3 separate regions of the Homo sapiens genome follow, and all the other regions are linked to region 2. Evidence: promoter capture Hi-C in human tissues and cell types (Jung and others, 2019). All regions are on one chromosome and are shown on one strand. The core of a region is centred on a gene start or on the middle of the fragment in contact, and the rest is flanking DNA. Distances in the headings are between cores, read along the strand shown.

The links. The method cuts DNA at HindIII sites, captures the fragments that hold promoters and counts their contacts. A contact is called where the count stands out against the background at its distance.
Region 1: a contact is called between a fragment that was not itself captured here and the fragment with the promoter of CXCR6 in region 2, in 1 of the 25 tissues and cell types used here (lymphoblastoid cells).
Region 3: a fragment that was not itself captured here is called in contact with the fragment with the promoter of CXCR6 in region 2 in 1 of the 25 tissues and cell types used here (spleen).

Annotation. Positions count from the first base shown.
Region 1 is chr3:45,701,962-45,705,509 of GRCh38, forward strand. SACM1L (SAC1 like phosphatidylinositide phosphatase) reads left to right here. Exons shown (of 20, transcript NM_014016.5): 2 at 1,477-1,574; 3 at 3,174-3,248. Among named protein-coding and RNA genes, the nearest start is that of SACM1L, 14 kb to the left of the region's middle. The HindIII fragment of the contact is 3,935 bases long and covers 1-3,280 here.
Region 2 is chr3:45,941,538-45,944,933 of GRCh38, forward strand. CXCR6 (C-X-C motif chemokine receptor 6) reads left to right here and starts at 1,927. Exons shown (of 2, transcript NM_006564.2): 1 at 1,927-2,003. All of the region lies in intron 14 of FYCO1 (FYVE and coiled-coil domain autophagy adaptor 1), which reads right to left. The HindIII fragment of the contact is 14,146 bases long and covers 1-3,396 here.
Region 3 is chr3:45,744,946-45,748,386 of GRCh38, forward strand. It overlaps SACM1L (SAC1 like phosphatidylinositide phosphatase), which reads left to right. Exons shown (of 20, transcript NM_014016.5): 20 at 1-464. Among named protein-coding and RNA genes, the nearest start is that of SLC6A20, 50 kb to the right of the region's middle. The HindIII fragment of the contact is 5,647 bases long and covers 1-3,441 here.

The DNA.
Region 1 (3,548 bases), core at 63-2,562, 240 kb before region 2:
AACAAATTATGATATATCCGTACAATGGAATGCTATTCAGTAATAAAAAGGAATGAATTGTTGTGTTCAGGTTAAATTGAAGATTGCTGTATTTGAAGCAGATTTGCTTTCTTTGTTGTATTGATTTTCCTTTACTTAGCATATCCCCCCAAATGAAGGAAACTAGCCTAATATTTAGTTAGTTACAGATGAACCATAGAAGGTTGTAAGTTATATTTGGGTAATTAAGGATTGATTATTCCTCAGAGAACTTGCAGTAAAAAAGAGTCAAAAGTTTGTTTTGCTGCAGGACATTTTTCTATAATGCCAAATAGCTTATACACAATTGGTAAATAGAAAATGATGTCCATGATGGTTGTGTGGGTTTGAATGAGATTTTTCATAGGCAAGTGGGAGTAGAATTAAAAAGGAAAAGAAAAAGCCCTCAGATTGGCTGCTGCACAGATAGAACAGATAGAAATTCTTTTAAGTCTGGTTTGTGAACAATAAAGATTAGTTTCTGGAAAAAGAAATAGTTCTTGGACTCAGCCTCCCTCCCCAGCCTTGCTCAGCTTCTGGAAAGGTTGTATCTTCTCCTGTGCCTACCTTAAAACAGCAGTCTCCATCAGTGGCTTGGAGTTCTACTTCAGTCTGCATCGTTTTAGTGCCTGCAAATGAAAACGCAGTTTTACTTTATTCTGTTAATATTTTGTATATCCTGAGTCAGTCCCTCACCATGCTGAGTTGCTTGCCTGAACTATTTAAGTTGTTTCTTGAGAAACCAACTGTTATTTTTGTTAGACTCTAATTACAAAGTTGCATAAATTTTAAGTAGTCTCTCTCAACCGTGTTTCTACCTCCTTTATTTTTTATTTTCCAGAGTGAGTTTTTTTCAGGAACATATATATGGGTTTCTAAAAAAACACCCCACCTGAATGTTAAAGTAATTTGTTTTTAAAAATTTCCTGGAAATATTTTATTTAAAATGCATTTCTTACTGTTTTTAGCTAATACCTCTTGCTTACTATGCGTCAGATGTTCAAAGTACTTACCAAAGATTAGCTCATTTAATTCACACGATGCTGCGTGATGAATCTGGTATTATCGTTATTTTACAGAAAGGGAATAAGAGGATCAGAGAGAATGAGTAACTTGTCTAAGGTCACACTACTGGTAGTCTGGTTCTGTAGGCTCTGGTCCTACTATGCTACATTGCCTTCTGTACCCTGTTGAATATAATAAACTAGATTTGATTATGGCATTTTTTTGTATATGTTAAATTGATGGTTTCATAGCAAATCAAAACCTAGTCAGCATCAAATATACAAGTGAAAAGAGTTGCAGTGAACTCATAAGGACAGCAAACTTAACAGATTCATCCTTTTAGAAGCTGGGAAAATGATGTCAAATTTATACTCTGTAATTGTCATAATAAGTAGTTTTTTAGAAGTCTTCATTTCATTTGGTTAGTTATTTATGTTTTACATTTCTTCTTAGGCATATCACACCTGAAAAATTTTATGTGGAAGCTTGTGATGATGGAGCAGATGACGTACTTACCATTGACCGTGTGTCCACAGAGGTTACCCTTGCAGGTATTTTACAGCCAGATTTAGAAGTTTAGGGAGAAAGATTTTATACATAAATTACAGTAATTAAAAAACATCACTCAGAGGTGTGTCAGTGTGTGGATCTCTGAGTGCATTCTTATTAAAATTTTTATTCTTGCTACCTCATTCATAGGTTGGTGCATCAATTTTATGCTATCTCCTTTTCTGTGAAAAGGAGAAATGATCTTGAAAATTTTAGGTAGCATTTTACTGTCCGTAAGGATTTAAAAACATAATATTTATTATTTTTTTCCCTTAGCTGTATTTTAACAGGATTGGTTTAGATAGCTAAGCTTCTTTCTAGCTGTAAGATTTAAGATATTTGAGAGTGAAAAAGTTGTTTCAGCTTTAAGAGTATGGAATTTTAACAGCTACTTTTGTTTTGAAAGCTTTCATGACTATGTGGAAATTTAATAAATGAAAAATAAAATATACTTCACTGACTAAAACTTGTAGGTGTTCTTAGGCAAATGATGTTTCTAAGTTTTATCTACCTAACCAGTTATACTTTGGTTATGCTTTTCTGGGATGTGAAAAACAAACTTTTTTTTCACTTGTGTGGAACACCCTGACTTTCCAAATAGATAAATACGAAATAATTTTGGTGGCAAATTAATATACCATGTGATAACATATTTAGAATTTCATATTTCACTTGTTTAAAGATTCTATTCACCCCCAGAGTTCTATATTTATTTTTTTCTTAAAGTACAATATTTGAATAACCATAGAGTAGGCATTCAGTAAATAGCCTTTGAGTGGGTGAAGTGAAGTACGAAAATATATTCCATGAGATAATGGGGTGTAAGACAAGTATGGCTATAAAATTTCTGTTTTTTTGATTATGTGGTAATTCTGGTAGGTACTATATATAGTTTGTCTTTGATCAAATGGAATTAGAGCTCTGTTTTAGTTTGATAATTTGACATTTCCTATTTGTCTGTTGCTTGGTGGCTGCTCTCTCAAGATAGCTGACTGGTTTTAACTAGTGTTAGTACACTTCTCCTAAAGTTTAAATTATACTACTCTTTATACCATGTTGATACAACCTAGTGTCTTACAAGAGCTTTAATGTGGGTGTATTTTCAGTTATCCTTGATCTTTCAGTAATGTTTTATTTGTAGGTAGAGATTGCAGACCCATTTGAATAGACTGAAAAGCTAAAGGTCATGAATAGTTTGAATGTAAAGATGATGATGCCAAACAGTCATCAGTAAGACACATGATAAAATACTTCCACGCAAAGTCAGTACTGATGAGCGACTGACTTGCTGACAGTTTCTTAGCCAGTTTCTTTTCACCACTGCGAATGCAGACTATGTTATTCCTAATGGGATTATTTTTTCTTCCATGAAAAAACCTAACATACATTCTAGGAGTTATCACAGTTTTATTGCTGTTACACTCCAGTTTACATAACTTATAGCTCTATCAATAGTGCATTTAAGTTAAGGAATGTTGCTTTTCTTAGAACAAATCATGCAAATTGATGTAGTCAAAGTAACTATTGAAATCGAACTAAATTTCTGTTTCTGTTGGTGAGCTTTTTGTATGTGATTTTTCTTTCTTTCCTTTCTTTTAAAGTCAAGAAAGATGTTCCTCCTTCAGCTGTCACAAGACCAATATTTGGTATACTGGGCACAATCCATCTGGTGGCAGGTAAGAGAAAATAAGCTAAGATGGGCAAAGAAGGTAATTAGCAAGGTAGTTAAATTGTTAATATTAGAGTGAGTATACGATGAAGTAATACTTTGTATCATGCTTTAAGCAGTAAATCTCTTGGTTAAGTATTTATCATTAATTTTTAAAAGAAATACTCCCCAAATGGTAAAATTTATCAGCGTGAGCTTCTATTATTTAAAAAAAAGTTTTGTATTTTGTTGTGTTTCAGTTAGAGTTGAAATCCTTAGCTAGATAATTTTCACAAATGGAGTATGTAAATAAAATTTTTTTTTTTTT
Region 2 (3,396 bases), core at 677-3,176:
AAGTGATTAAAATAAAATTTTAGCCCCAAACCTGCAAGTGGCTCAGCTCCTCAAATTTAGGTGAAAGTCTTTTGTACTATAGAGAAGTTTCTATTAAAGAATGGCCACGATAAACAAGCCATGCTTTCTCAAATACACATATCCCCATATTGACATGTACACACAGTCATGGAGGGCCCCAGGTGCTGGCTTGTTTTTCCCCATGGAGTAGAAAGGCTTGCTGAGAAAAGCATGGCCAAGGGTGCTTGACAAGGCTCAGGCCATTCTAACACTGCCCTATGGACCTGTCTTGAATGGCATGGTTGGTTGTCCCTGGGTAAAACTCAGCTCTCAAAGCTTAAAGATTCCTAAATGTCAGGCAGGGTTACATTAAATTGCCACCCTGCCTTGAAAGTTCTCTTTCAGGAAGACAGGTGCATATTTGGCTCAGTCTGTTCCTTTATTCATTTGTCCACCATTCCCTACATCCATCTGTCCATCGGTATGTAGTCTATGCGGCCTCATGGTTCATGCCCATAAGGAACACCTCACTCATTTGTACCAGTTTGGTAGAAAGGACAGTCTGAACGAATTCATTCAAAAAGGCCTGCAAACCTACTAGAGGTCTTCAGATCTTTTATCAGGGCCCCCTGGCACAGCTCCATACTCAGAGCAGGGCAGGAAGCACTGGCTTTGCAGCCTGACAGTCCTGGGTGACTGCCAGGGATGTGTGTTCTTGGGCAAGTGGGCTAATCTCTCTAATCTTCTGTTTGCCTATCTGTACGTGACTAGGATTAGATGGCTGTACATAGAAGCATCCAGCATAGGGCCAGGCTTGCGGTAGAAATGAGTGTTAGTCTCTGGATCCTGAGGCTGCTCCTGGTCCCTGCTCCCAATGCTTGACATTTGCCCTTAGGAAGAGCCACATGAGAAGGTTTGCCTAGCAGGTGGGAGAGAGCAACAGCATTGGAGAGAAGCAGCCTGAATGGGAGTGCAGAGCCAGAGAAGGCAGGCCAGGCACCTCCACAAGAAGGCAGCTGCTTCTGGGAAAGCAGACATCGAGTCCATGCCTCTCCCTAGTACCCTCTCCACTACAAGGCACTGGGGCATGTGACCCAGGCTGACATGCCTCCAATTCCTGCCTTCCAGCGTTATTTCCCAGAAGGGTCAGTAATGTTAGATCATGGAGACTGACAACTAGAACTGTACTGAGATCAAAGTAGTCAACATCTGGGGAATTCCAGGAGTACAGAGGGCAGCCCAAGGAAACCAGATGATTCCAGCCAGCCTACGCAGGGTGGGTGGGCACTGCCTGCTGAGTGCCTGAGTGGTGTGGGCTTAGGAGGTGGGGCTGCACCAGGCCCTCTGGCAGACCCATCATCATGCTGTTGATTGGTCTGGTAATGACAGATACCTGAGTGTGTATCTTCGATTTTCCAGTTTCTAGCTGTGTGCACCAGGGCTTGTTATTTTGGCTATGGTCCTCAGTGTTCTCATCTATAAAGGCAGGATAATATCCACTGCAGGGCTGCTATGGGGCTTAACAGCTATCACATATGCTGGAGCTGCATATGCACGCAGAACCCAGCCCATACCATGGACTCAGCATTGGCCCAGACCCTAACTGTTCCAAAAAGATGTCTGACTAGTGAATTAAGTAATTTTAAGGTACAAATGCCACCATCTTCGGTGGATGGCCAGAGCCAAACCTCCTTATTGTTCCCCTTTAGTTTACGAATAAAGCTCGTCAGGCCCTGACAGAAGAATCAGCCCCAAAGCAGAATGAAGGGAGTGTGGGGTATCAGTCACCCATCCATCTCTGACCCACGCGTTACACAGGGGCGGGTTGGTCATATGGATTCTGATCTGAAGGACGGGAGTAGGGGGTGGGTCTCTTATAGTAACCAGCTGAGGGCTCTTAAAAAATGTTCAGCGGAAACATGAACCACATCACAGAAGTAGAGGCAGACCTTGCTTCATGAGCAAGCTCATCTCTGGAACAAACTGGCAAAGCATCTCTGCTGGTGAGTCATTTGTTTTACTCTTTATATTGAAAAGAAGACAGGGAGGACTAACCCCAGGTATTGTTGGTATTCTCAGATTCCTGTCTGTAGTAGGGTACAGTGCAAAATGCCAGGCTATGGAGCTCAGCTGCTCTTCGTTCAAATTCCATCACTGCCATTTGCTGCTGTGTGGGTTAAACTGGAGAAACATGAAAACTACTGAACATGTTTCCAGGCACACAGTTAGTGCTTGCAGGCTGATGGTACTGCTAGTAATGGCATAGTCAGACCCACCCAGGGAGATAAGGAGAATCTAGTTATTGTCTATATTTGCTCAATGAATAATCTCTGTTTTCATTTCTTTTGCATAAGACAGGCTGTTTTATCAGATTATCATTTATGTTCTTTTTTCAATATAAATCAACATACTACTGTAGAAACTTTGAAAACTATTTTAAAAAAAGGAAGAAATAAGTCACCCATAATTCCACCAGCTGGAGGCCAACTGTTAATAAAATGTGATCATTTTTTCCAGGTTTCTAAAAGTACGGTCAGTTAAAATCACATAGTTTATCATGAACTCTTATGTGAGGGCCCACAGAATACATGGCAGAAGGATTCAAGGGGTTCATGGACTCCCAGAATTGTAGGGGTGTTTGTGTGTGTGCGTGTGTGTCTGTGTGTGTGTGTGTGTGTGTATATATATATACATTATTTCTGAGAAAAGGTCTGCAGTTTTTAGGAGATTCTCAAAGGAGTTTATGGTCAAAAAAGGTTAAGAATCACAATTTTATATCCTTTTGACATCTATTTGTTGTAATAGTAATAGTTAATACTTATTTTGCATATTTACTTTGTGTTTACACTGTTCTTAGCAATTTAACTGTATTGCATTTTCCAAAATCAGTAAAAATACTTCCTAAACATTTAAGTATATTCTATTTTATGTATGAATTGTAATTTGCTTCATCATTATCAGACTTTTACACTACTTCCAAAGTTGTAGATTTTTTTTTTAATTTTCAGAAAACAAAATAGGATTTTAATTATAGAGGATAAAGAAATGAATGTTTTTAGTTCGCCTAGAAGGGAAAGTAATTTTTCATACTCTATTTGCACAGCACTGTCCAGGCCCAATCTGTTTACCAATTATTATACATCAAAGTTTACCAATTATTACACATGAATTTGCACAGGTCCTTTGAGGAAATGTGTAATGGCAGCATAAGGGACCAGCAAAAGCTGGAACAGGAAGATACCAAAAAAAGGCGAGAGCGAGTCAAGCAATAATGGGGAGCTGAACATTATTCTTAAGAGCAAAGCCACCTGTTTCATATTTTAAATGATGAAAAAATATGTTTTTGCCCATGTGAATCAATAACACATACACATCATCTGACCTACTTAATACAGT
Region 3 (3,441 bases), core at 211-2,710, 200 kb before region 2:
TTTCTAAAAGCGCCTTTATTTCAGCATTACCTTTTTTTCATCACTATCTTTTATAAAACATTAATATAAGTCGTTACTTTTAGAAACTAAAGGAAATAATAGCTGGAAAACCCTCTGTAGTTTAAAATCAGTCATTAAACTCACAATAGGGTAAGTAAATATAGCCACCTGTTAACATGTAAATAAGCATAATTTGTTCCAAAGATGGAATATTGAAACTTAGTTCATGTCTGCTGTAAAATATTATTTAAATGCTGCTGGGCATTTCACTTAAAGAACTTAATGTCAACAGCTACAACAAAGACCAAATCTGAACTGCTAATGTGGCTGCTTTGTAGGGAATGGACTAATATCAGTGTGTTAGATCTTAAGGTATCAGTATTTCAGAATCCTGCGACGATTTTATTTCTAAATTCATGTACTGTATGTCCATAAGTGAAAATAAAATGTCATATTCTTTTCTATTATTGGTATCATTCATGTACTTTGAAAGTGATGTTTTTCTTTTTGATCTTAGAATGCTAAAAATCATGCAAAATGATAGACGGTTTGGCTCTGTGTCCCCACCCACCCAAATCTCATCTCAAATTGTAATCCCTACGTGTTGAGGGAGGTACCTGGTGGGAGGTGGTTGGATCATGGGGGATGGTTTCCCCCATGCTGTTTTCATGAGTTTGCACGAGGTCTGATGGTTTAAAAGTGTTTGGCATTTACCCCCTTGCTCGCTCACTTTCCTGCCACCGTGTTAAGATGTGCTTTGCTTTCCCTTCACCTTCTGCCATGATGAAGTTTTGTGAGGCCTCCCCAGCCATGCGGAACTGTGAGTCAAACCTCTTTTCTTTATATGTTACCCAGTCTCAGGTAGTTCTTTACAGCAGTGTGAAGACAAATTAATACACAAAGCAATGCATGATCATCATAGAAAAATTAGAGTAAGCAAGAAAATCAGTAGCTTCTGCAATTTTGCTTTCCAGTTATGATCACTTAAGAAATTTTGTATCTCCTTATAGTTTTTATTTTTAGTTATAGAGAAACCCAGGGAAATATTTAGTAAAGTGTAATGTCCATAAAAAGGTGTCCCCCACCTTCAAATTGTAATTTGTTTTTCAAAATGTTATGAATCCCAGCTGATGTGGGAAAATATTGCTTATTAGAAAATGACACCTCCACAGGAAGGTGTCAGCATGAGGGAAATAGTGATGGAAACACATTGGTACCTAGTGATGGCAGCAGTGGGCCGTCTGGAGTGGCTGCTGCCATTGTGCCGGCCGTAGCAGGGAGGTGTGAGTGGTGGCTGCAGGAGCAGCCGTGGTGATGGTGAGACCCCTGTGCCCCACGTTCCCTGTGCCCCGTGTCCCTGTGGCAGCCGACTGCGCCGCCCCCACCCCTGTGTGGCCGAGTGGGGCCTGCCTCCAGGCCTGGAGCCACCACTGCTCTGGACCCTGGTCCGCGTTACCACCACTGTTGCTTGCTGTTGCCAGGAGGGCGGAGAGTCCCTGGAGCCTGCTGCAGGGATACCCCTGGAGCCTGTCTCCCGGGGGGCCGCCGCAATGTGGCCAGGTTGAGTTGCCTGCCGGCGGGGGAGCAGCGTGATTGTGCATGGAGGACCAGGCAGAGAAGGGCCACAGGCGGAGCTGGGCCCGGGGTGGTGCCATGCTTGCACATGGAGCACGGGGGCCGCGCCTGGGGTGCGGAGCTGGGGCTGTCCTTTGGGGGCCTGGAGTGGGAAGTGGGAGCGGTGCTCACTTTGGGGACACAGCCAGTGGCACGGCCACCGCACCCTTCCTGCTGACTGGCGCCGGATTCCTGCGCCTTGGGAGGAGGCTCTGCGCAGGATTTCCCAGGGCCGGATCCCCAGGGTCTGCCTCATAGCGGGGTGACCTCTGAGCCTGATGCTCCCTAGGACCAGGCCCAGGGCCTGCAATCCGCTCCTGGAGGCACTCCTGCTGGGCAGGGCTGTGAGCCAGGCAAGGGAGAGCCCTAGGCCACCCCTGAGCACTGGGACCACAGGAAGAACTTGTGGTGACGTCACTCTTGCCTCAGATGCCAGCATGGGCCCAGCAAGGAACCTGAACCCCTACCCCAGACTGCGAGGAGGCATGGCCAGAGCCGCCTGCACGTCCATGGAGCAGGTGGGAGACTCGCCTTCCCAGGCACAGGACCTGGGTATCCGCACTGTGCACCCTCGGGAGCCAGATCTCAGAGTGGGGTTGGAGCCGAAGCTGGGCATTGTCACAGCTCAGCAGGGTGTGTGCACACTTGGGGCAGCACTGAAAAGCCAGCCTCCTGCCACGTCGGCCCCCTCTGGACTTTGGGCACCAACAAGCACTGGTGGAGGGGAGGGGAAACTGAGGGGGAGGCTAAGGGTGTCTCGGTGCTGACCTGCAGGTGCCCCTTGGTCAAGCAGTCTGGGCACCATGGATGGCTGCAGGAGGCAGACAGGCTCCTGGGCAGAAAGGGGCGGGTCCCTGGTGAGGCCCCACCTTCAGGCCACGGACGGCCTGGAAGCTGGGGGCTGGGCTGCCAGTTCTGTGGACCTGACTGGAATGGGAACTTGTGCCTTTTCTGGTCCCACCTATGGCTGCCCACGGACCAATTGGCATATTCAGTTTCTCCCTCCTGAGGCCCAGAAAGGCCCTGGGCTCAGCCAAAGCAGAGCAGAGACAATGGGACAACCAGCTGCAGAGAAGAGCTACCCTCTCTGCTGATAGCTGAACACTTGGGATGACCTGCCTGGAGAGAGCAGCTACCCTCTCTGCTAGGAGCTGAACACTTATCGGAACACCCTGGCTGCGGAAAGGAGGTACTCCCTGCAGGTCTCCTCTGAGCTGTTCTATCACTCGATAAAGCTCCTCTTCATCTTGCTCATCCTCCACTTGTCCACATACTTCATTCTTCCTGGCCACAGGACAAGAACTCAGGACCCGCCAAATGGTGAGGCTAAAAGAGCTATAACAAACAGGGCTGAAATGCCCCTTGCTCACCACATTGTGCGCGAAGGAGAGAAGACCTGCAGCCCTTCAGGGAACCCAGACCTGGGAGTTCCCTGAGTCAGGGCTGTGACTCCCTCTTTGGGGTCCTGCAGTTCCTAGCATCTCTAAGCTTCTGGGCACTACCGTCTTCCGCACTGGCAGCCGTGGAAGCTGCTTGCATGCATGCCTGGTCCAGCTGCAGCCTTGCAGAGAGCCCGCACCCATGCCAGCACTTGGAGCTGCCTACCCCACTGCAGCAGCTGGTGTGTGTAACTGCAGTGGTTGGGCCCCATGCTTACATACCCCTTGCTGCTCCATACCTGACTTGGCCTTGGCAGGCATGGGATCCAGGCCCGTAATGTAAGCCGAGCTCAGCCTGCCAGGCTGAGTGGGCGGAACAAGCCCAGCAGGCCTGAACAAAACACGGGCAAAGGCACCACTGGCCACAGAGGTTTCCAGCCAGAAAACC